Regions from separate parts of the Homo sapiens genome. Here regions 2, 3, 4 and 5 are each linked to region 1. Evidence: promoter capture Hi-C in 16 types of primary human blood cells and fetal thymus (Javierre and others, 2016). All regions are on one chromosome and are shown on one strand. Each heading gives the region's core, a stretch centred on a gene start or on the middle of the fragment in contact. The rest is flanking DNA. Distances are from core to core; before and after follow the strand shown. Region 1 holds the start of ANAPC10 (anaphase promoting complex subunit 10). Region 2 holds the start of RAB33B (RAB33B, member RAS oncogene family). Region 3 overlaps NDUFC1 (NADH:ubiquinone oxidoreductase subunit C1). Region 4 has its middle 6.0 kb from the start of SETD7. Region 5 holds the start of RPS3A (ribosomal protein S3A).

Evidence for each region. Contacts are between HindIII fragments. The CHiCAGO score rates a contact against its expected background, and 5 or more counts as called.
Region 2: a contact is called between a fragment that was not itself captured here and the fragment with the promoter of ANAPC10 in region 1, in 2 of 17 cell types (non-activated CD4 T cells and naive CD4 T cells). The highest score is 8.2, in non-activated CD4 T cells.
Region 3: a contact is called between a fragment that was not itself captured here and the fragment with the promoter of ANAPC10 in region 1, in 1 of 17 cell types (naive CD8 T cells). The highest score is 6.8, in naive CD8 T cells.
Region 4: a fragment that was not itself captured here is called in contact with the fragment with the promoter of ANAPC10 in region 1 in 1 of 17 cell types (monocytes); the score reaches 8.6 in monocytes.
Region 5: the fragment with the promoter of RPS3A here is called in contact with the fragment with the promoter of ANAPC10 in region 1 in 1 of 17 cell types (total CD8 T cells); the score reaches 8.1 in total CD8 T cells.

What each region holds. Positions count from the first base shown.
Region 1 is chr4:145,096,343-145,100,369 of GRCh38, forward strand. It overlaps ANAPC10 (anaphase promoting complex subunit 10), which reads right to left and starts at 1,854. Exons shown (of 5, transcript NM_001256706.2): 1 at 1,778-1,854. ABCE1 (ATP binding cassette subfamily E member 1) reads left to right here and starts at 1,969. Exons shown (of 18, transcript NM_002940.3): 1 at 1,969-2,077. RefSeq lists enhancers at 1,109-1,980, 1,228-2,427, 1,561-1,610, 1,691-1,950, 1,981-2,852 and 1 more. The HindIII fragment of the contact is 4,584 bases long and covers 1-2,905 here.
Region 2 is chr4:139,451,336-139,455,512 of GRCh38, forward strand. It overlaps RAB33B (RAB33B, member RAS oncogene family), which reads left to right and starts at 2,786. Exons shown (of 2, transcript NM_031296.3): 1 at 2,786-3,109. The coding sequence starts at 2,861. It overlaps RAB33B-AS1 (RAB33B antisense RNA 1), which reads right to left and starts at 2,706. Exons shown (of 1, transcript NR_159964.1): 1 at 340-2,706. RefSeq lists enhancers at 2,074-2,413, 3,034-3,083 and a silencer at 2,484-2,813. The HindIII fragment of the contact is 749 bases long and covers 2,145-2,893 here.
Region 3 is chr4:139,290,772-139,294,817 of GRCh38, forward strand. It overlaps NDUFC1 (NADH:ubiquinone oxidoreductase subunit C1), which reads right to left. Exons shown (of 6, transcript NM_001184989.2): 5 at 1,759-1,838. The coding sequence ends at 1,779. Among named protein-coding and RNA genes, the nearest start is that of NAA15, 8.7 kb to the right of the region's middle. The HindIII fragment of the contact is 965 bases long and covers 1,744-2,708 here.
Region 4 is chr4:139,560,031-139,564,352 of GRCh38, forward strand. No RefSeq gene overlaps it. Among named protein-coding and RNA genes, the nearest start is that of SETD7, 6.0 kb to the left of the region's middle. The HindIII fragment of the contact is 1,271 bases long and covers 894-2,164 here.
Region 5 is chr4:151,098,140-151,101,955 of GRCh38, forward strand. RPS3A (ribosomal protein S3A) reads left to right here and starts at 1,489. Exons shown (of 6, transcript NM_001006.5): 1 at 1,489-1,575; 2 at 2,346-2,449; 3 at 2,836-3,023. The coding sequence starts at 1,514. RefSeq lists enhancers at 399-468, 746-1,945, 1,244-1,828, 1,249-1,808, 1,829-2,412. The HindIII fragment of the contact is 1,842 bases long and covers 136-1,977 here.

The DNA.
Region 1 (4,027 bases), core at 604-3,103:
AGCCCAGGAGTTCAAGACCAGCCTGGACAACATGGCAAGACCCCATCTCTATTTTTAAATAAATAAAAATCTTAGGAATTCAGGTTTTGTTTCATATGACCAGATATGCAAAGCAGTGAGCTATAGTAGTCAAAAGAGCACAGAATCAAAGTTTTGGCTTCAGTATCTCCTTTAATCAGCCTAGACTTTGAGTAGGTCTGGGCTTTATTTCCTCTCCTGTTAAAGAGGTTCACTTGATGATTTTTACTTCTACAATGCTATGCAGTTCTATAATTCTGTGCCTGAAAATTCAAATGACTTTTAGCCCTAGAAAAGTCAGACTGAAATACTTTTATTCTAGGAATATATAAATATTGATCCTCATTTTATTTACTTAATTCCTTTTTTTTTAGAGACAGGATCTAGCTATGTTACCCAGGCTGGTCTTGAACACCTTGCTTCAAGCGATCCTCCCACCTCAGCCTCCCAAGTAGCTGGGATTACAGGTGTGATCCCATCACCCCACTAAGATCCTCATTTTAAATATTCATTGAGTGATGCAGAGAACAGTCATACCTGCCCTCTAGCTGTCAAAAGTTTTATTTAAGACCCAGCCCGGTGGCTCACACCTGTAATCCCAGCAGTTTGGGAGGCCAAGGCAGGTGGATTGCTTGAGCCCAGGAGTTCGAGACCAGCCTGGAATATGGTGAAACCCTGTCTCTAAAAAAATTCCAAAAAATCAGCCTGGTGTGGCGGCACACACCTGTAGTCCCAGGGGGGCTGAGACAGGAGGATCACCTGAACTGGGAGGCGGAGGTTGCAGTGAGCCGAGATCGTGCTACTGCACTCCAGCCTGCGTAACAGAGCAAGACACTGTCCCAAAAAGCACAAAAATAAGAAAAAAATGTTAAAAGTTCACTTACATATGCTCTTACCATAGAAGATAAGGTCAGGAAAATGGCTTCAAGATTTTGAAGTGAATAACTGGCCCATTCTAAAAAGGTTGACCTCATCTTTCACATCTTTTGTTAATTTTACTAAGTCTATTCATATGTGAAAAAACACTTCAATACTGGATCGTGAACAATATGTAAAACTGCTTTGGTAGCGCAGTTACTGCTACTGAACATTGTTATATATGCTATTCAAAATAGGTGCAATAGTTCTGCATACCGTTTCCTTGACACCTCCCATTGTATCCGAAGTTGTTCTTTAATCGGCACACAAGCACTTGATACTTACTAAATAACGGCAGACACAACGGACTGTAAACTTTGGCAAGGCCTGAGGCTTAAACGCTCAATAAGTAATTTACTGAATGAATAAACAGATGAATAGGTTCAGTTATGAACTAGTTGTCACTTGCCTGCAAGTTAGGTGAGATCTAGGGCGAGACTATTCAACCTGCAACCATCATTACTAACTGAATGTCCTGTTACCTAAAAAAAGATAGAAATAAAGCCCATCTTTAGGGCAGAATTCAACTGCCGGACTTGGGACTGGACGCCACCAAGTGGATAAAATATGGAGCTCGGAAAAGATTGGATTCCCGGCCCTGAACTGACCACACAGTTGAGAGGAAGTTGAGGCCTAGAAGAGCGCGCAACAGTAAGCCGTGTCGGCACCAGACTCTGTTGGTCCTACTGACACCTCCAGCGTTAGAATGACTAAGGCTCCACTCCTGACCCACCGGCCTTGAGGAAAGCGCAAACGTAAAAAAAGATTGAAACCGGAGAGGCGAATGCATCTGTTTACGCTAGGACCACGCTCGACGTCGGAGAAAAGCCCACACACTCACAGTTTCCAGACCTGGCTGCTTGCCGAAACTCAGATTCTCGGCACCTCCAGCAGCTGGCTTCGCCAACGGCGTTGAACAAGGGTCGCAGCTCAATGACGTCATATCTCCCTACCTACCTCCAGGGTTCCGCCTCACGCTCTATGTCGCGCGCGCGCACTACGTCCTATGGCTTGCGCGTGCGGCGGCTGGGCACCGCCATTTTGGCCGGTGGCCGTGAGAACACGCTGTGTGGCTGAAAAGTGAAGGCAAGAGCTGATTTGGCCTCTGTGCTCCCCTCCGCAAGGGGATCGTTTTCTCCAGGTACGTGAATAGCCCGGAGAGGTTTGGCCGTTAGCTGCCATCTGCCAGGTTGGAAAGAATGTAGGGACGTTCTCCGAGAGCCTTTGGTTAGGCCTTAGGTGGCGGAGACAGCAGCAGCGCGTGGCAGCGGTTCCTGCGGGACAGCTGGAACTGATGGAGCGCGGGCGACGCCGAGAGCTTGGGGGCGCCTCGGTCTTCCCCTCCAGCCGACCCGGCTGTCGCCGCTGTTGCCTGCCACACCCGCGAGGGACTTCGAGAATGGACCTAGATGCCGTAGTCTCCACTCCCCCTTTACCCCACTCCCGCCCTGAAGCTAAACCTGCTGGAGAGGAAGGCACCTTTAGAACTTACAGCACTCTCTAGTACCCCCACACTCCTCCAGCACCCAAAATGGATATATTGTCACATGTGCATATTTGGTTGTGGGAAGTCGTGGCTTCCACGTTTTGTTGAGTGGAATGAGTCATGGCATCTTGCCGCCATGAAGTCGAATACTCGCTGTCCACTCCCAGGCTTTATAGAAATGATGCCCACATGTCACTCTGCTTTTCTCAGAACAGCGTGTACGCAGCTATGACTGGGGTTGTCCCAAGTAGTTTCCCAGTAGAAATCCTATAGTTTTTTTGGTACGCTTTTGTAGCACTAGGCACTTTCTCCCCTTACCCGTTTTTCCTTTTATTGTATCTAATACTCATTGAGATCAAGGTTGATGTCTTTACTCAGAATACCTTTATTATCTCTTCAGGGCTTCGTACATTGTAGGCATTTAATACGTATTGTGAATGAATGACAGCCAAAGCCGAATTCCCACCTCCCATTAACTACATAAGCTTATTTTCTCTTTTTTGATGGTAAAAATCTATAAGAGGAAGAACTGTCCAAATAACATGTTTTATTTTTTTACTCTTTCCCAACAGGACTGCTAACTAGTCATTTATGATAGTGGCATTTATGTTGCAGTAGTTTGTCCCATATTCTGAGAATATTCATTGTATACCAGCCACCTGACACTAATACTTTGTTAGTGTAACCAAAGGCTCAGAACCTGTATTTGAACCAAAAGCTGTTTGGGGTTTGTGAGCTTTTTGAGAACTTAGTTCTCCCCTATTTTAAAAAAGGGAGTTTTTTTGTTTGTTTGTTTGTTGGAAGAGCATCTAACAATTGGGAGAGAGGGGGAGAAAACAATATTAAGTTAGAGTTCTTCTAAATGTCTTAAACTTAAAACTCTTTGAAATCAGAGCCGTGTACCACTCCTAACTTCTACGTGTTTTGTAAGACTAATAAACTACAATAAGCATGGGTTAGACTATTTCATGTGATACTAAACATCATTAGTTAACAGCAGTCTTTGAAATGCTTTTACACAGCGTTACAATTATTTTGGCTTTAGACTGTAAATGCTTCTAAGTATTCCTCACTTCCTTTTTTCCTCTCAGCTGTAAGAATGACACTGAGGGTCATTGTTCTAGTGTCAATTTTGAACACTTTTGTCTTCGAATCTGAAATATCCGCAAATCCTTCTTTGTTTGCAGGAGCCTGTTAACTATAATCTTCCTCTCCAAGCTTTACTGTGCCTAGGTTTTCTATTGAAAAACAAGTAGGGAATCCCCTTGCCCCAATTATTGAAACTGATACAGAAATTGAATTAAAAGTGTTCACACAGTTAATTAACAGTTCTACAAAGAATCCATGTTCATTTTTCTTAAATGCATTACAATTTATCACTATTTTTATATAAATCAGTTTATTAACCACTTCTGGTATGTTTTTATTCTACTGTAAAAATCAAGCCAGGGTAGTGACATGCACCTATAGTCCCAGCTATTCGGGAGGCTAAAGCAAGAGGATCCCTTGAGCCCAGGAGTCCCAGTCTGTAGTGTCCTGTGATCACTGCCCTCAGCCAGGACACCATAGCAAGATCCCTGTGTCTTTTTAAAAAATTGTCTTTTA
Region 2 (4,177 bases), core at 1,269-3,768, 5.6 Mb before region 1:
AAGTAGAGGTGTACACAACCACACCCACTTTTTTTTTTTTTTTTTTTTTTTTTTGGAGACAGGAGGTCTCACTCTGTTGCCCAGGTTGGAGTGCAGTTTTGCGATTTCAGCTCACTGCAACCTCCACCTCCCTGGTTCAAGCGATTCTCCCACCTCAGCCTCCCGAGTATCCGGGATTACAGGCATGTGCCACCACACCTGGCTGATTTTTGTATTTTTTGGTAGAGACGAGGTTTCACCATGTTGGCCAGGCTGGTCTCAAATTCCTGGCCTCCAGCAGTGCTCCTGTCTTGGCCTCCCAAAGCGTTGGGATTATAGGCATGAGCCACCACACCCAGGTACTACTGTGTGATTTTAATATCCAATGTTTTTTCTTCTATTACAAAAGTATCTTTACATACTTATCTTACCCTAAGCCATTGAAATTGTTCCATTTTAAGTTGTACTGACAAAGGATCCAAATTTACAGTTTCTGCTCAGCTGTGTAGCAAAGTATTAAGGAAAGGGTTACATGTTCACACTTTGAGGCCAAGTGGTAGTGACTCCAAGGACAAAATGAACAGTCAAAAAACAGGGCTGTATAATCCATCCATTCTTTCCAACAGTAGAATTTCCTCCAATTATCAATTCTGGAGATTCTGGGGTTATTCAATTAAGAAGAGTAGCACATACTTCAGTCACATGAGGACACTCTCAAAATACAAGTTGAAAATACAAAACTCCTCATAACAATGTCAAGTGCCAACAATGATTTTTAAAATTTAAGTAGGGCTGAACTGTGTGTAACTGGTGAAATGTTCAAGTTAACAATCCTTACACACGAAATCTCTCACTTCACTGACTTAATTCATTATTTGCTGAATAAACAATAAACTTCCAGTCAGTAGTCAAGAGTTGGCAATCTAGCTGGTAGGACATAACATATAATCATGAAACAGCAAAAACAGTATTCAAAGATTAAATTAGCAATACCCCAAAATGTGTGTTAGAGTTAGCATAAAGAATTTCTGATGTAGTTTACCAAGAGCTAAACTAAAAAGTCCAGAATACAAAAAACAGGGATGCAATGATGTTAGTTTTTTTCACCATCCTTGAAATTCTCCCATTAACCACAGCTCTGAGTTTTCAACTGCTCTTTGTCCTTAAATCTTCAGATTCCCTCCTTTGAATGGGATAGGTAGAGCAGATTAGAAGAAATATATTCCGAGGCTCTCTAATAGTTTCTGGATGATTAACCTTCATGAAAATAACCTCACAGATAAGTAATTAGGATTTTTCAGCCCATTTCTATAAACTAAGTAAACTTTTTTTCTAGTGAACATAACTTGATATATTAGTGACTGTAGAAAGTCTTTCTACAGCAACAGGAATTATATCAAGGCTTTTGCAAATTCCTGGCAACTCCGGGCATGTTTAAGTTCTACTACTCATCTGTTCTGACTATATTTTCATCTGATGGAATAAGCAGTTCATCTCCTTTCCTAGAACTTTTAGTGCTCTACTGTCCCCCTCACTTTAGTTAAGGTCTGCCATGTCCTCCTCTCCGACAGTCCTTGACTTTCCCAATGGCATATTCATCTGCTCAAACAGATGTCACTGCAAAACAAAACAAACTTTTAACAAAAAGCAATGTTTGCATATTTGGGGCCTTTTGTATGACAATATTGCACGTTTCCTCAGAAAAATTCACGGAGATTCTTTAAGGTTGGGGGTTTAATCTATTGATATTTTCCTTAGGTAGACAAAGACAACCTCTAAGTGCGCTCAGTTAATCTTTAACCGCTACATCATCGTCACCCAGGCACTAAGACATAACTAGGGCATAATGAGTTTTATTTCCACCAGGGGCGCCTAGTAACTACCAGGTTCAACGCTCCCAGGTGGCCGACATGTGATGTGCTCTACTGTTTGGGCTGGGGATATTAGCTCAACAAACTCTGGCCACAAGGATCACGCGGATATTCTTGGGGATGCCTAGCGAAATGCGCTGTACCTAGGCCTCGAACTCTCGCCTGCTCTCCGGTGGGCGGTCTCGAACTCCAGCCTGCTCTCCGGCAGCCCACAGCAATGCGCCTGCCAAGACCTTAGGCTGCAAAACTCGCCACGGCCCAGAGCTCGCCTCCAAGTGCGCCCCGCACAGGGCAAGCTTTCGGCGAGGACTCGCGTCCCACCCATCTAGCCCTGGCCGCTGTCCCAACTCCCGCAGTTCACAGAGGCGGCGGCGGTGAGCGCAGCCGATGCCACATCCTCAGCGGCAAGCTGAAGAAACCTGTCTCCTCTCTGGGGCGACCAAACGATACGTCGATGCCGGAACCGACCCGACGCCGGAGCCGTCGGCTCCGTCCTTACCGTTGCTCTCCAGGTACACGCCCCCGTCAAAGGCGGCTCTGCGGCCCTCTCGCGAGAGAGTGCCCGTGGTACCTCCTTCCTCTCAGTTGTCTGTCTCTCCCCGCCCCCGGAGTGATTGCGCGGCTTCCTCCAGAGGGCGGGAACCTTGGACGTGGCGGGGCTGGGTCAGTCAGGGCGCTGGGCCCAGCCTCTCTGCAGGCTGGCCTTCCGCGCTGCCGTGAAGCCCCCGACAGGTCCCACGCCTGCCTAGGTAGACCGGCGCCAGCCCGAGTGACGCCTGGCGTGTGGCCGCGGGCAGGCGGCTCCGTGCGGCGGGGCGGGCGGGTGCCACACCTGTGCGGGCAAGGGCGGGGCGGGAAGGTGCGCAGGCGCGCTCGGGGCTGGTGGGCGGTGGCTCCTGGGAAGTTGCGCAGCCGAACTGGCCGGCTGGGCGCGCGCTCTTGCGGTGGCGTAATCTCTCAGCCTTTCTGTGTCTCCTTTCCTCCGCCTCAGTTTGGGGCGGGTCGGGGGAATGGCTGAGGAGATGGAGTCGTCGCTCGAGGCAAGCTTTTCGTCCAGCGGGGCAGTGTCAGGGGCCTCAGGGTTTTTGCCTCCTGCCCGCTCCCGCATCTTCAAGATAATCGTGATCGGCGACTCCAATGTGGGCAAGACATGCCTGACCTACCGCTTCTGCGCTGGCCGCTTCCCCGACCGCACCGAGGCCACGATAGGGGTGGATTTCCGAGAACGAGCGGTGGAGATTGATGGGGAGCGCATCAAGGTGAGCGGATGGGGAACTGTTGGGGAGGACAGGGTGACAGGTGTCCCAACCCCACCGTGGGCTGGTCGCTGGCCGTGTGCACGGTGTGTGTGCGCTCCATTTTTTTCTCACGCTGATGAGATTGGAGTTGGGGATTGGAAGGATTGCAATACTGCAAACTTCTAAGGCAGCGTTTCTCAGACTTCATTGTGCATGCGATTTACCTGGGGATCTTGTTTTTGAAAATGCAGGCTATGATTTAATAATCTCGCTGATGATGCAGGTGCAGCTAGTCCGTGGACCACACTTTGAGTTCAGGAGTGTAGGGCTTATCTACCGACCCATTTACTGTGTGTGTCGTGTGCTGGGAGTCAGTCAAATATGAACGGAGGAAAAACAGTGAAATTGCGCGAGAATGGAAAATTCATTTAATCAGTAATAGTTATTAAACATTCATTCGAGCAGTGCCTTAGATGTTGTGGAAGTAAAGCCTATTGCCTTTGAGGAAGTACTTAGGTATTCTCTTGCATACAGTTTTGCTGTAGTAGTTTCTTTATGATACTGATTTTAGAAAAATCTATTTTCCTGCAGAAACATTCTATATGTGATAGTTCCTACTCAGGTTGCCAAAAGCATTTCTCATGATGCCACCTCAGACACACGCCCAATTCTTTATTCCCTTTAAGTCGTTATTTTTGGTCCCTGGGACTGGGGACACTGAGTGACAGTAATAGTGGAGAAGGTAGTATAGGCCCCAGGGCAGGTTTGAAGTTCTGAGGGGTTGGAATCTAACAGTGGAATGAGGATCAATGACAAGGCTTAGGCCTCTTGATGGTATAAACCTTAGACACACCTTCATAGCAAGCCACCACTAAATGCCACCTGTTGATGCCACTCCTTAAAACATAGGTGGAACCACCTTGCCTTATACTACTGCTTTAAATCAGCGATCGTCTTTATCTCAGTCTCTTGGTGGGGATGGGGAGTGGTGGGAGAACAGGCTTGCTTTAGACGTTCCTACCCTCGTATCTTAGAGGCAAGAACAATTTATTTTTCAGTTCCCTAATCATCGCCCCCCACCCCAACGGG
Region 3 (4,046 bases), core at 976-3,475, 5.8 Mb before region 1:
ATATCTATAGATGAATATATTATTTATTCATTCATTTATTTTTGAGACAGAGTCTTGTTCTGTTGCCCAGGCTGGCTGGAGTGCAGTAGCCCAATATTGGCTCAATGCAACCTCCCAGCCTCTGCCTCTTGGGTTAAAGCAATTATCGTGCCTCAGCCTCCCAAAGTAGCTGGGACTACGGGCGCGCACCACCATGCCTAGCTATTTTTTGTGTATTTTTAGTACTGATGGGGTTTCGCCACGTTGGCCAGGCTGGTCTCTAACTCCTTGCCTTAAGTGATCCACTCGCCTCAGCCTCTCAAAGTGTTAGGATTACAGGCGTGAGCCACTGCGCCCAGCCAGATGTATATATTTTATATATATATATATAATAAACTTTCTCTTTTAAATCACAGACCATGCAGAATAAACTATCTTGTTCATAACTAGGTTTTTTACCAGGAACTGTCCAACTGGGTATTAGTTGAGTTGACAATCATAATGAAATAGTCATGCAGAAAAAAATTTAAAAATTGATTGCTCTGGCCAGGCGCAGTGGCTCACGCCTGTAATCCCAGCACTTTGGGAGGCCGAGGCGGGCAGATCACGAGGTCAAGAGATGGAGACCATCCTGGCCAACATGGGAAAAGCCCGTCTCTATCAAAAATACAAAAATTAGCTGGGCGTGGTAGCGCGCACCTGTAGTCCCAGCTACTCGAGAGGCTGAGGCAGGAGAATTGCTTGAACCTGGGAGGCGGAGGTTGCAGTGAGCCAAGATTGTGCCACTGCACTCCAGCCTGGTGGCTCCGTCTCAAAAAATAAAATAAAATAAAAAGAATCGATTGCCGTTATACATTCATCACTTCTACAAATATTAAACTCCTAAATGGACCAGATGAGCAAGTTGCTGAATAAAGGATAATTAATAAAATAGGTTTCTGTTCTCATGGAATTCACACTCAAGTGTACAAGATACCAAACAGACATTAAGAAATACACACACGAAGAATAATAATTTGTCATAAGTGCTATGAAAGCAAAGTGTAAAGCACTATCAGATTTAAGAAAATAATATGATTTTGGGTTCATTCTTTTTTTTTTTTTGAGAAGGAGTCTCACTCTGTCACCCAGGCTGGAGTGCAGTGGCACGATCTTGGCTCACTGCAAACTCTGCCTCCCGGGTTCACGCCATTCTCCTGCCTCAGCCTCGCGAGTAGCTGAGACTACAGGCGCCCGCCACAACACCTGGCTAATTTTTTTGTATTTTTGGTAGAGACGGTGTTTCACTGTGTTAGCCAGGATGGTCTTGATCTCCTGACCTTGTGATCCACCCGCCTCGGCCTCCCAAAGTGCTGGGATTACAGGCGTGAGCCACCGCGCCTGGCAGATTTTGGTTTCATTCTTAAACATACCTTTCTTTGAACAGAGTCAAAGACTAATGATTAAAAATGATTACGCTAAAAGATTCTTGAGGCTAGCAAAGTGGCTCATACCTATAATTCCAACATTTTCAGAAGCTGAGGCAAGGAGTGAGACCAGCCTGGCCAACAGGTCTACAAACAAACAAACAACAAACAAAAAAAACCCCATCCCCCCCAAAACAAAACCAACTGCTTGAGGCAAGGTATTACAAATTTATAAATTTGTCACAGACAGAAATATGGGTGCTAAAATGTATAAACCTAATACAAAACAAACAACAAGCTTGTTTTTCAGTATTTAAAAAAGAGGTCAAGTTAATTTGCATAATCTATTCATCCAATAAGCTTGTATACTTACTACATTAGTGTTTCAAAAGTTTATTCCAGCCCATTTCTTCTTTTGTACTCTAAAATATCTTCATTGTGTTGTTTGATGAGCTACAAAGAGTTAAACAGTTAAAATTAGAAATGTAATCTTCCTGGATACTTATATTTTGTAAAGGAATAAGGATAGAAAAAATAAACAACTATTCTAGTTAGAAATAAAAGGCTAAGAGATCCAAAAGTTCAAAAACCAGGAATGGTATAAACTTGCTCACCACAATGTGACATCCTAAATTTGAGAAGGGAGCCCTTAAATATATATATATATATTTATTTATTTATTTAGAGACGGAGTTTTGCTCCACCCCAGGCTGGAGTGGAATGGCGTGATCTTGGCTCACTGCAACCTCCTTCTTCTGGGTTCAAGCGATTCTCCTGCCTCAACCTCCTGAATAGCTGGGATTACAGGCGCCTGCCACCACGCCTGGCTAATTTTTGTATCTTTAGTAGAGATGGGGTTTCACCATGTTGGCCAGGCTGGTCTCGAACTCTGAGCTCAGGTGATCCACCCGCCTCGGCCTCCCAAAGTGTTGGGATTACAGGCATGAGCCACCGCACCTGGCCAAAAATTTAAATTAAACTACTGCCAAAAATTTTACCTCATTTGGTGGGTAATAAACGTAATGAAATGGCTTATCATGAAGGGGTAAATCAATATGATACAGCACAACTTGGTTATTAAATGGGATCCAGGCTGGTTGGTGGGTGCGTGTTATGCTTCTAATCTTAGAAGTAGGATACCTTGATTGAATGACCAACCCCATCACGAAACTGTATGTGTATTAATTAGATGTCATGGAGGACAGTCACATTTTTAGGACCACTGTCTGACAGAATATGCAACTGGAAAAATGGCTTATATACGATGACATTCATGGCAATCAAAGATCCAAGTTCAATCACTAGTGCTCTCAGCAGTAATTAAGCTTCTTGTTAGAGAAAACCTTAAATTAAGAATGTATAAAATTCATTATAAGCAACATTATTCAAAAAGATGAGTTACTATTAAGTTGTAAGTGACTCAAAATCTCTCACCCCTTTCCAAGTCAAAAATCTGAACCACTTCAACAAGAAAATTTAAAATATCTTAGAGCTGGGGGACAGTGGAGGAAGTCCCAAACCCATTAGATAAAAAACAAAATTTTAAATATTAATATAGCAGATACTTTAACTTTAAAAAGAAATTTTATCCCAACAGAGGCAGTGTTTCACAGTCTTTTCTAGGATAGTGTGGCCTCTGAAGTCAGGAGAACTGGGTTCAGCAAACTAGTTTCTCCAAGTGTTTCTTATCTGTAACGGGTCAACAATAGTAGGTGCCACGTAGTGTTGTTGAAATGATTAAACGCAAGTTTATGTGTAAAGCATGTGGTGTGAATTTTTTTTTTTTTTTTTTTTTTTTTTTTTGAGACAGAGTCTCGCTGTATCTCCCAGGCTGGAGTGCGGTAGCACGATCTCGGCTCACTGCAAGCTCCACCTCCCGGGTTCACACCATTCTGCTGTCTCAGCCTCCTGAACAGCTGGGACTACAGGCGCCCTTCGCTACACCTGGCTAATTTTTTTTGTATTTTTGGTAGAGACGAGGTTTCACTGTGTTAGCCAGGATGGTCTGGATCTCTTGACCTCGTGATCCGCCCACCTTGGCCTCCCAAAGTGCTGGGATTACAGGTGTGAGCCACCACGTCCGGCCTGAAAATTTTTTTAAAAAGGTCGCTACACACTATGTACAATTTCCAACAATGTATTTATACAAACATTGATTAAAACCTAATGGAAGTCTACTGGGATTCAATTTGTACAACTTGCACACTGCTGGTTTGTCCTTACAGCATCTGAAAAAGGTACCTTCATAAAACTCCAATTAGCCTCAATTCTCATTAAGAAATAAAGTATAATTACTATTGCCGGGCGTGGTGGCTCACGCCTGTAATCAGAACACTTTGGGAGGCCGAGGCGGGCGGATCAATAGGTCAGGAGATCGAGACCATCCTGGCTAATACGGTGAAACCCCGTCTCTACCAACAATACAAAAATTAGCCGGGCGTGGTGGCGGGCGCCTGTAGTCCTAGCTACTTGGGAGGCTGAGGCAGGAGAATGGCGTGAACCCGCGAGGCAGAGCTTTCAGTGAGCCGAGATCACGCCACTGCACTCCAGCCTGGGAGACAGAGTGAGACTCCATCTCAAAAAAAAAAAAAAAAAGTATAATTACTATTTAGTAAAACTGCCATTCCTTACAAAACCATGTTAAGGAACAATAACAGAAAT
Region 4 (4,322 bases), core at 279-2,778, 5.5 Mb before region 1:
CCGCCAGCAGGATGACAAGGATAAAATTAGTGAAAGACCTTTTAAATAATCATCAAGTCTCGTTTTGGCACTGCTCACTCCTTCACAAGATTTTTTCCCACCAAATTAGCCAGTTTGATTGAGTTTTTGCTTTGTCTGTTTTGGTTCCACCAAGAACTAGCCAAGCAACTGGGCAATTCAGTTCTGCGGGGGCCGGGGGGGGGGCCTTCGTTTTCCCATCTGTAAATGAAGAGTTGGGCTACATAAATTCGAAGCTCAAACCTTCTCTGTCCACCTTTTCTGGAGAAAAGGTAAATAGAGCCTGAGAAGCCCCAGGAAAAGGCACATAAAAAGGAAATGGGAAGAAGCCAGGGCAACTCCAACAAACTGAATACTCAAGTCCTCTCACGTTAATGGCTCTATCTGGGCAGGCAGGTGAGGGGAGAACCTTTATCTTGACTCTAGGGAGGGAAGCATGGAAGTTTTAGGAGAACCAAGGTTCCTGGGTTCTGAATCACTGAGTCACTAATCAAGTGGCTAACTGTGTTAGTGACAACTGCAGAAGCTGGAGGGAGGGGCTGGGAGAGGAGCAGCGAGGAGGAGACGGGTGGGGGAGGAGATGGGGATGAAAGGGAAGCGTTTGCAGCTTGTGGAGCACTGGGAAGAGCAGGGACATCAAGGGCACCAAATAAAGGTCCAGGGAGCAAAGAAAGAAATGGAGAAAATTCATTCTGCTGGAAATAGACATGAGTGCAGTCAGGAAGAAGACTTACAGATTCAGGGTGACCTGATTTGATTACAGCAACAGGAAGTGCAAGAGAGAGAGGGCAGAATAACCTGACCTAAGGAAGTGAATTAAATAATAGAGAAGACACCACAGTTGCCATGGTATTAAAATACCTCATGCCACATTAAGCTTCCTCTTTCTCTTTTGCTTGATTCTTGTTTTTGCAACATGTTAATGTTGCAATGACATGTTAATGTCATTGCAGGGTATCCAGTAAACTAAATTTAGACTTTCTGGGGCGGGGAGGGGAGGGAAGATGCAGCCCAGATCTCCCTGTTTGGGTCGACTCTGGGCCAATATTGTTCCTTCACAGAGTTCTTGGGGTTTTTTGCATTATGGGATATGAAAACTCTTATGTCAGGCTTGGGCCTAGTGAAGCTGCTGAGTGAAATGATTGAAAAAAAAAAAATGAGGCCAGGCACGGTGGGTCACGCCTGTAATTCCAGCGCTTTGGGAGACAGAGGCAGGTGGATCACCTGAGGTCAGGAGTTCATGACCAGCCTGGCCAACATGGTGAAACCCTGTCTCTACTAAAAATACAAAAATTACAAAAATACAAAAACTGGTGGTGCATGCCTGTAGTCCCAGCTACTTGGGAGGCTGAGGAAGGAGAATCACTTGAACCTGGGAGGCGGAGGCTGCAATGAGCCGAGATGGCATCACTGCACTGCACTCCAGCCTGGGCCACGGAGTGAGACTCCATCTCAAAAAAACAAACAACAACAAAAAAAACCCTCACACACACACACACACACACAAAGAAAAATTGGAAATAGTTTTCAAAGGGGCATCTGTTTTAGAAATTACTTTAGAAAAACAATAGGATTGCAGAAACTTGAAAAATAAAGACAAACCGCCACCAAAACCAAATGTGTTTTCATAGATATTATTTTCTCTAATTGTTTTTGAAAAATTACTTTACTAGGCTAAAATTAAGATTATTGAGTCCTGCAATTGGTCCTCTGCAAAAGTAGACATTGCAGAGGGCAGGTACATGGTATACTCTTTTGACACTACAATATCCAGGATGGGCAGAGGAGTATTTCCAGCTGACCTATTTACCACAAATGTCATAACATTCATCAAGGGTCAGCTCTTGACCTTCCTCAAGTGGACTCACATTAACTAGACCCCGAGAGACTGAGATGTATGCCTGAATTATGATGGACAGATCAGAATACTCACACTGTCAGGGCAAAAGATCTCTCTATATAAATAAATGCACTTGAGAAGACAAATTCCATCCAAAAGTTTGCTTAGTTATCTGGAGTAGAATGAAGGACATTAGTTGTGTGGTCCACAAGACAAATACTCTGATACAGTGTTCTGAAAGAATGAGGCTGCCCACCCATCCCACTCACCTCTGCTTAGATGGGCCCTATGGCTTCTGAGGCTTCAAGCTTCTTTCTCCGTGCTCTAGTTTCTCCAAACCTGATTCTCCACACAGCGTCCTATACAGCCCATTAGGCAGATTTACACTTTCTAAGTCATAATGACATTCTCTATCTTCCTGGCATTACAGCCAAGTCACTTTAATGGGAATTTGAGGTAATCCTCAAACTTCTCAGTCACAAATTGAGTCACTCTCTTGGTTTATGCCCACTGAATTCTAGTCAAAACCATTGAGTGTGCAGATTTTGGTAGTCAAACTTTCTGAGAGCAACCTGGTTCTCAAGTTCTTGGGAAAGCACCTCATTTCTGCTTCACAAGCCATCAACAGTGGGCCAACCTTCTTAGGCTACCATGATTTCTGAGAAAGAGACCAGAGACATATTAAGACCCACGTGGCCTGTCCTGTGATACAGTCATCCAAGTTTTCCTGGGCACTCAGCTCAAAGATATTTCTATTCTGTGCAGGAGTGGAGAGGTTGGCTCTTTGCTATGATAGCTTAGGCAACGGAACGCCACCTTGAGGATGCAGATTCCATCTACTATAACATAGATGGAGGGCAAAGTGTCCTCTTCATTTTCCAAATGGGACTGTCTGGCTTTGAATCCAATATCCAGAAATGAAAATACCCATGTGGTCCTCTTCACTCAGTCACAAACAAAGACAGGTTGATTAGAGTGTTTCTGGGACCTGGCACTGAAATGACAACCCTCGATCTACAGGCAGCCCTCACCCGGAGGTGCTTGATGCTAAGCCAGCCCTTCCTGTATGTATTTGCTGGAGACCTGTCTTGCAGCCTCTTTGGATCTGGCGTGTCCTTTCAGGTCATTTAAGGTCTTATTGATCCTCCTTGCTGAGTCCATAGATCAATTCTTGGGAAAAGATGCTGTGGCCAACTTTTGGAATGTCTTTCAGACAAATTTAAAGAGCCCTGCTCAAATGCTCCTGTGCTCAAGATAGAGGACCAAAAAGAAAGCAGCCCTGTGGTAGGCCTTGTACTGTCTCCTTGGAGAAAAATGCCAGTTGAGAGTAGGTCTTCTGAAGTTATAAGCATCACTTCCCAACCTGGCATCTGGGGAATGTCTTAAGTCTGAGATAGTGTGAGTTCTTCAGCAGAGCAGGGAGCCTGGTTATTACTCAGCTGTAAAGTCTTGGCACCTCGACCTCACCTGTGTCCCCTGTTCTGTGCTCTCCCCCAAGATGGTGTGGCAAAGGTTGTGATTTGAACCAGGTCAGGTTCATTCTCAGTTGTAGACAAGATAAGAGAGAGGGGCAAGTCAGTGATCTCTCCCTTCTCGCCAATCCTATAGAATTTGGAGTATCTGCAACTAACTTTCCTTAATATTTCAAAATAATCCTTCTGAAAATGTGCATTGAGAATTGTGGAATTGGTTATATCCAAGCAGAGTCATCTTGTTTATAGGCTCATTTTCATCTAAGGGGCTATTTTTATTGCTGACATATACCTTTCAAGTATTTGGAAAGGTTTATCGTGAATGGAATGTATCCTGAATGGAATGTAATTTGGCATCTCTGAGCTCATTTGCACCACACAATAATTCATCCCCAAGACCAGAGATGTTTAAGGACTCTCCCAGGATCCCACAACTGAAATGTGGCCAAATGAGGCTCAAATCAAGGCCCATTGGGTCTTCAGCCATACTTCACACTTCATGCAGAGTGACAAGACTCCTCAGAGGGTGGGCATCGGAGGGCAGGGGTGAAGCAACAAGAGATGGCATTTAGAGACAGTCTGCTGTTTCCCAGGAGACTGAGTCACATCATTTCATTTCATCCTGAAAATGACCTTACAGAATATGATCTCCATTTATAGATGAGGAAACCCGAGACTGTGAGTTCAAATAACTTGTCTGGAGTCACATAAGTAGTGAGAGTGGGATTGGAACCACAGCTGTGCAAACCATGAAAAGGCACAGATAGAGGAAATGGAAGTAACAGGACAGTTTTGGAGAAATAATTCTAGATTATTGAGTAAAGGAAAAGTTCTTAAAGAAGCTCTACATCAGTTTTATGGTGCCATACAAGATGGACTTATGGAGTGTGTTAATCTGTTCTCACATTGCTGTAAAGAAATACCTGAGACCAGGTAATTTAGAAAGAAAAGAGATTTAATTGGATCATGGCTCTGCAGGCTACACAGTAAGA
Region 5 (3,816 bases), core at 239-2,738, 6.0 Mb after region 1:
GGCAACTGAGATTTATGGAATTACTGAAAGATTTCAGGACCCTACTAGAGGTTTAGGAAGGTTGTCTTGGGGGGTGGGTGTAGTGGGAGGTAGGGGATGGAGGCTAGCAGGACTGGAAGGGATTGTAAGTTTAAAAGCTTGCAGGGGGCCTTGTAAGTAAGGGTTGGTTTTGGCTTGGTCACAGGGTTTTCTGCCAGAGGGGAAGTTAGAGAAGGGAACTCAACACACCACTGGCTGAGTACCAAGCCTGTATGGGCCAGATGCTTTCCGAGGGCTGCACACTTGAGCTAGCCAGCCACACCTTGCCAGGATGTGCTCTGTTAACCCCTACAGTTAAAAAAAATGGGGGAGGCGGGTTTGGATTAGTTGCAAAAATGGAAACATTTGGAGATCTCACTTTTTTTTTTTTGACGCAGTTTCACTCTTGTTGGCCAGGCAATGGCGCGATCTCGGCTCACTGCAACTTCCGCCTCCTGAGCTCAGATTCTCGTGCCTCAGCCTCCCGAGTAGCTGGGATTACAGGCACCCACCCGGCTAATTTTTTGTATGTTTAGTAGAGACGGGGTTTCACTATGTTGGCCAGGCTGGTCTCGAACTCCTGAGCTCAGGCGATCCGCCCGCCTCAGCCTCCCAAAGTGCTGGGATTACAGGCGTGAGCCACCGCGCCCGGCCAACGCCCTGCTAATTTTATCATTTTCTTGTAAAGACGGGGTCTGGCTGTGTGGCCCAGGCTAGTCTCCAATTCCTGGCTTCAGTTGATTCCCCTGCCTCAGCCTCTTAAAGTGCTGGGATTACAGGTGTGAGCCAACGAGTTCGGTCTCACTCTATTTTAAAAAAACCTTTTAATCAATATATAACAGACATATAGAAAAGGACACAAATAAGCGTAGAGCTTAGTGAATGTTCACAAAGCAACAACACCTGAGATGAACCAGCATCCACATCAACAAGCAGAACGTCGCTAGCATCTCTGGAGTGATGCTCATTTAGCCCTATGAAACCTCATGAAGCCGACCGTTTTATCACCCCCATATTACGCATGAGGAAACAAGCGTGGAGAGGTCGGTCTCAAGCAAAGCCCTGTTGAAACCGGCATTTGAATCAGATCCGCTGACTGACTCCAAAGCCAATGCTCTCAAAAAGCAGGTTTGGGGGTTAGACGGTGAGTTCAGCTTTGAACGATGTTGAGTGGGCGTCTCGTTTTACAGAAACTTACTTCCCGACGTCACAGCCACAGAAACCACAGGTAACCAGACGCCTGCACGTCAGGCCACCGACGCCTTGGTCTACACAGCGCAGCCTCCAGTGAGCCCGCGGCATGCCGCGCGGCCTCCCCACACACGATGGCGATGTCGCAACCACAGTAGAAAGAGTGGCGCTCTCTACTGTCCCGGAATTCTTGAGGCCGGAAGAATAACAGGGCAAAGGTCACGTAGACGGCGCGCCCCGCCCCCGTACGCCTAAGTTCTCGCGCGACTCCCACTTCCGCCCTTTTGGCTCTCTGACCAGCACCATGGCGGTTGGCAAGAACAAGCGCCTTACGAAAGGCGGCAAAAAGGGAGCCAAGAAGAAAGTGTAAGTCGCGACTGTCGTGGCGTCTTGCTTTTTGGGGGTCTGCTGGAATCGGCGGGCTGGTCCTAGATCGCGGCGTAGGCCGGATGGCGAGGATTCCAGTCGGATTGTGCGGGCCGTGGCGGGTTGGTGCACCCAGGAACGCGGCCTGGAGGGTCGGTGTTGAGTAGCGGCAGGTCGGCTGCCTTTCCCAGGCCTTCTGGTCCTTGCGCGCGTCGCGTTTGAGCCGGCTTGCCGGCGCGACTCGGCTGGAATGTTAGTTTTGTGGGCTCACGAGCTGCCTCAATTCTGCGAGTGTTTGATGGCACTGCGACAGCAGGAGTTGAGGAAAGCACCCTTCTATCCATTCAGGACCCGTCAATCTCGCCTTTGCTTGGTCCCGCTGGAATCTGCGAGCTCCTGCTAAGCTTTGGGGCCATGCAGTCTCTTAGTTACCAGTACATGCCATTACGTGCCAGCAAAGTTAATGAGATTGCATGTTACTCGTGCCTGTGTAGTGGAAGGACCGATGCATGTTATTCTAAGTGCCTGTGTAGTGGATGGACCGATGAGGGTGGGAAGTGGACATAACCTTTCAAAGTCTGATGCATGCAGTGAAACGTACAGTGGGAAGAGCTAGATTTATGTTTGTTCCCCTCACCTCACTGTGAGATATACTTTGGTATCAAATTGCCGGTTAGCTTTTTAAAATATTAATGGGAAATACCATTAACAGTGAAAAATACAGTAAGAATTGATCTGCAATGGAACTTAAGCATCTTCTTAAAATCCAGGGTTGATCCATTTTCTAAGAAAGATTGGTATGATGTGAAAGCACCTGCTATGTTCAATATAAGAAATATTGGAAAGACGCTCGTCACCAGGACCCAAGGAACCAGTAAGTAGCTTATTCTTGGTTTGTATTTTCCTTAAGTTGGCGCTTGTATATTGTAGCAGGCATCTTGGTCTGTTGTTGGTCCTGTGGTGGGAGACTTTAAGGAAATGTCAGCTCTTGGTTGCAGCCTTGGCACCTGTGGTGATCATTTTTAGTACAGCACTTGGAGAGAAGCAAGATGGTGCTTTTTGAATTAAGAAAATGTGCCATGGGTAGTTCTGAGCTTCAAATAAGTACTGTTGATAAGTCACTGGTGTCTGGATAGATTTGATAACAAAGGTTAAGGTCTTTATAATTTACCATTAACTTAATTTCTACCCTCAGTTTACAGGCTTGACTTTGCTTATATGGTTCCTAAATGTTAAGATACTTGTTTTTTTCTTTTGTAGAAATTGCATCTGATGGTCTCAAGGGTCGTGTGTTTGAAGTGAGTCTTGCTGATTTGCAGAATGATGAAGTTGCATTTAGAAAATTCAAGCTGATTACTGAAGATGTTCAGGGTAAAAACTGCCTGACTAACTTCCATGGCATGGATCTTACCCGTGACAAAATGTGTTCCATGGTCAAAAAATGGCAGGTGAGACCCAAAGTTCCTTAGAGTGGTTGTGCTATGGGTGTTTGACCAAGGATAGCATGGTTTGATGACTGGAAGGAGCAAGTTCATTTTATTTATTTATTGAGACCAGTGAAATGTCCACAAAGTTCATTTTAAATTTTTGTTTTCTTGCCGTTGTTGAGTGCTAACTCTGGGGTTGCCACACCATATTTTACTTACTATTTAAATCTAAGATTTAATAGTGGTGTATCATCAAAGTCAGATTTTCTTGCTGCATAGATTAGTGGTTTTTTGAGGAACGTTTAGGTGCAGGTGGGCGGTTTTGCCTGTCTTAAGGATGTTTTTTGACCTCAGAATTGAGTGAATGTTGATTAACTGTGGCAGTAGAGCATAATTGTGGCAGAGCCTCTGGAGTGAGGTTAAAATCTGGGCTCCATTTGCCTATTGTGTTCTCGTTGGAAAGTAACTTGTTTTCTAAGCCTCGGTTTCTTTATTTGTAAAGTGCAGATAAGAGTGTCATTTTATTGAATTGTGAGGATGAAATGAAAATATTTCAGATGTGTCTGGCTAACTATCCAGTTGGAATATTTTGTGGGAGTTTTTTGTTTTTGGGAGATTGAGTCTCTTATCGTCCGGGCTGGAGTGCAGTGGCGCCATCTCTGCTCACTGCAACCTCCTCCTCCTGGGTTCAAGGGATTCTCATGCCTCAGCCTCCCAAGTAGCTGGGATTACAGGCACCCGCCACCACGCCCAGCTAATTTTTGTATTTTTAGTAGAGACAGGGTTTCACCATATTGGCCAGGCTGGTCTCGAA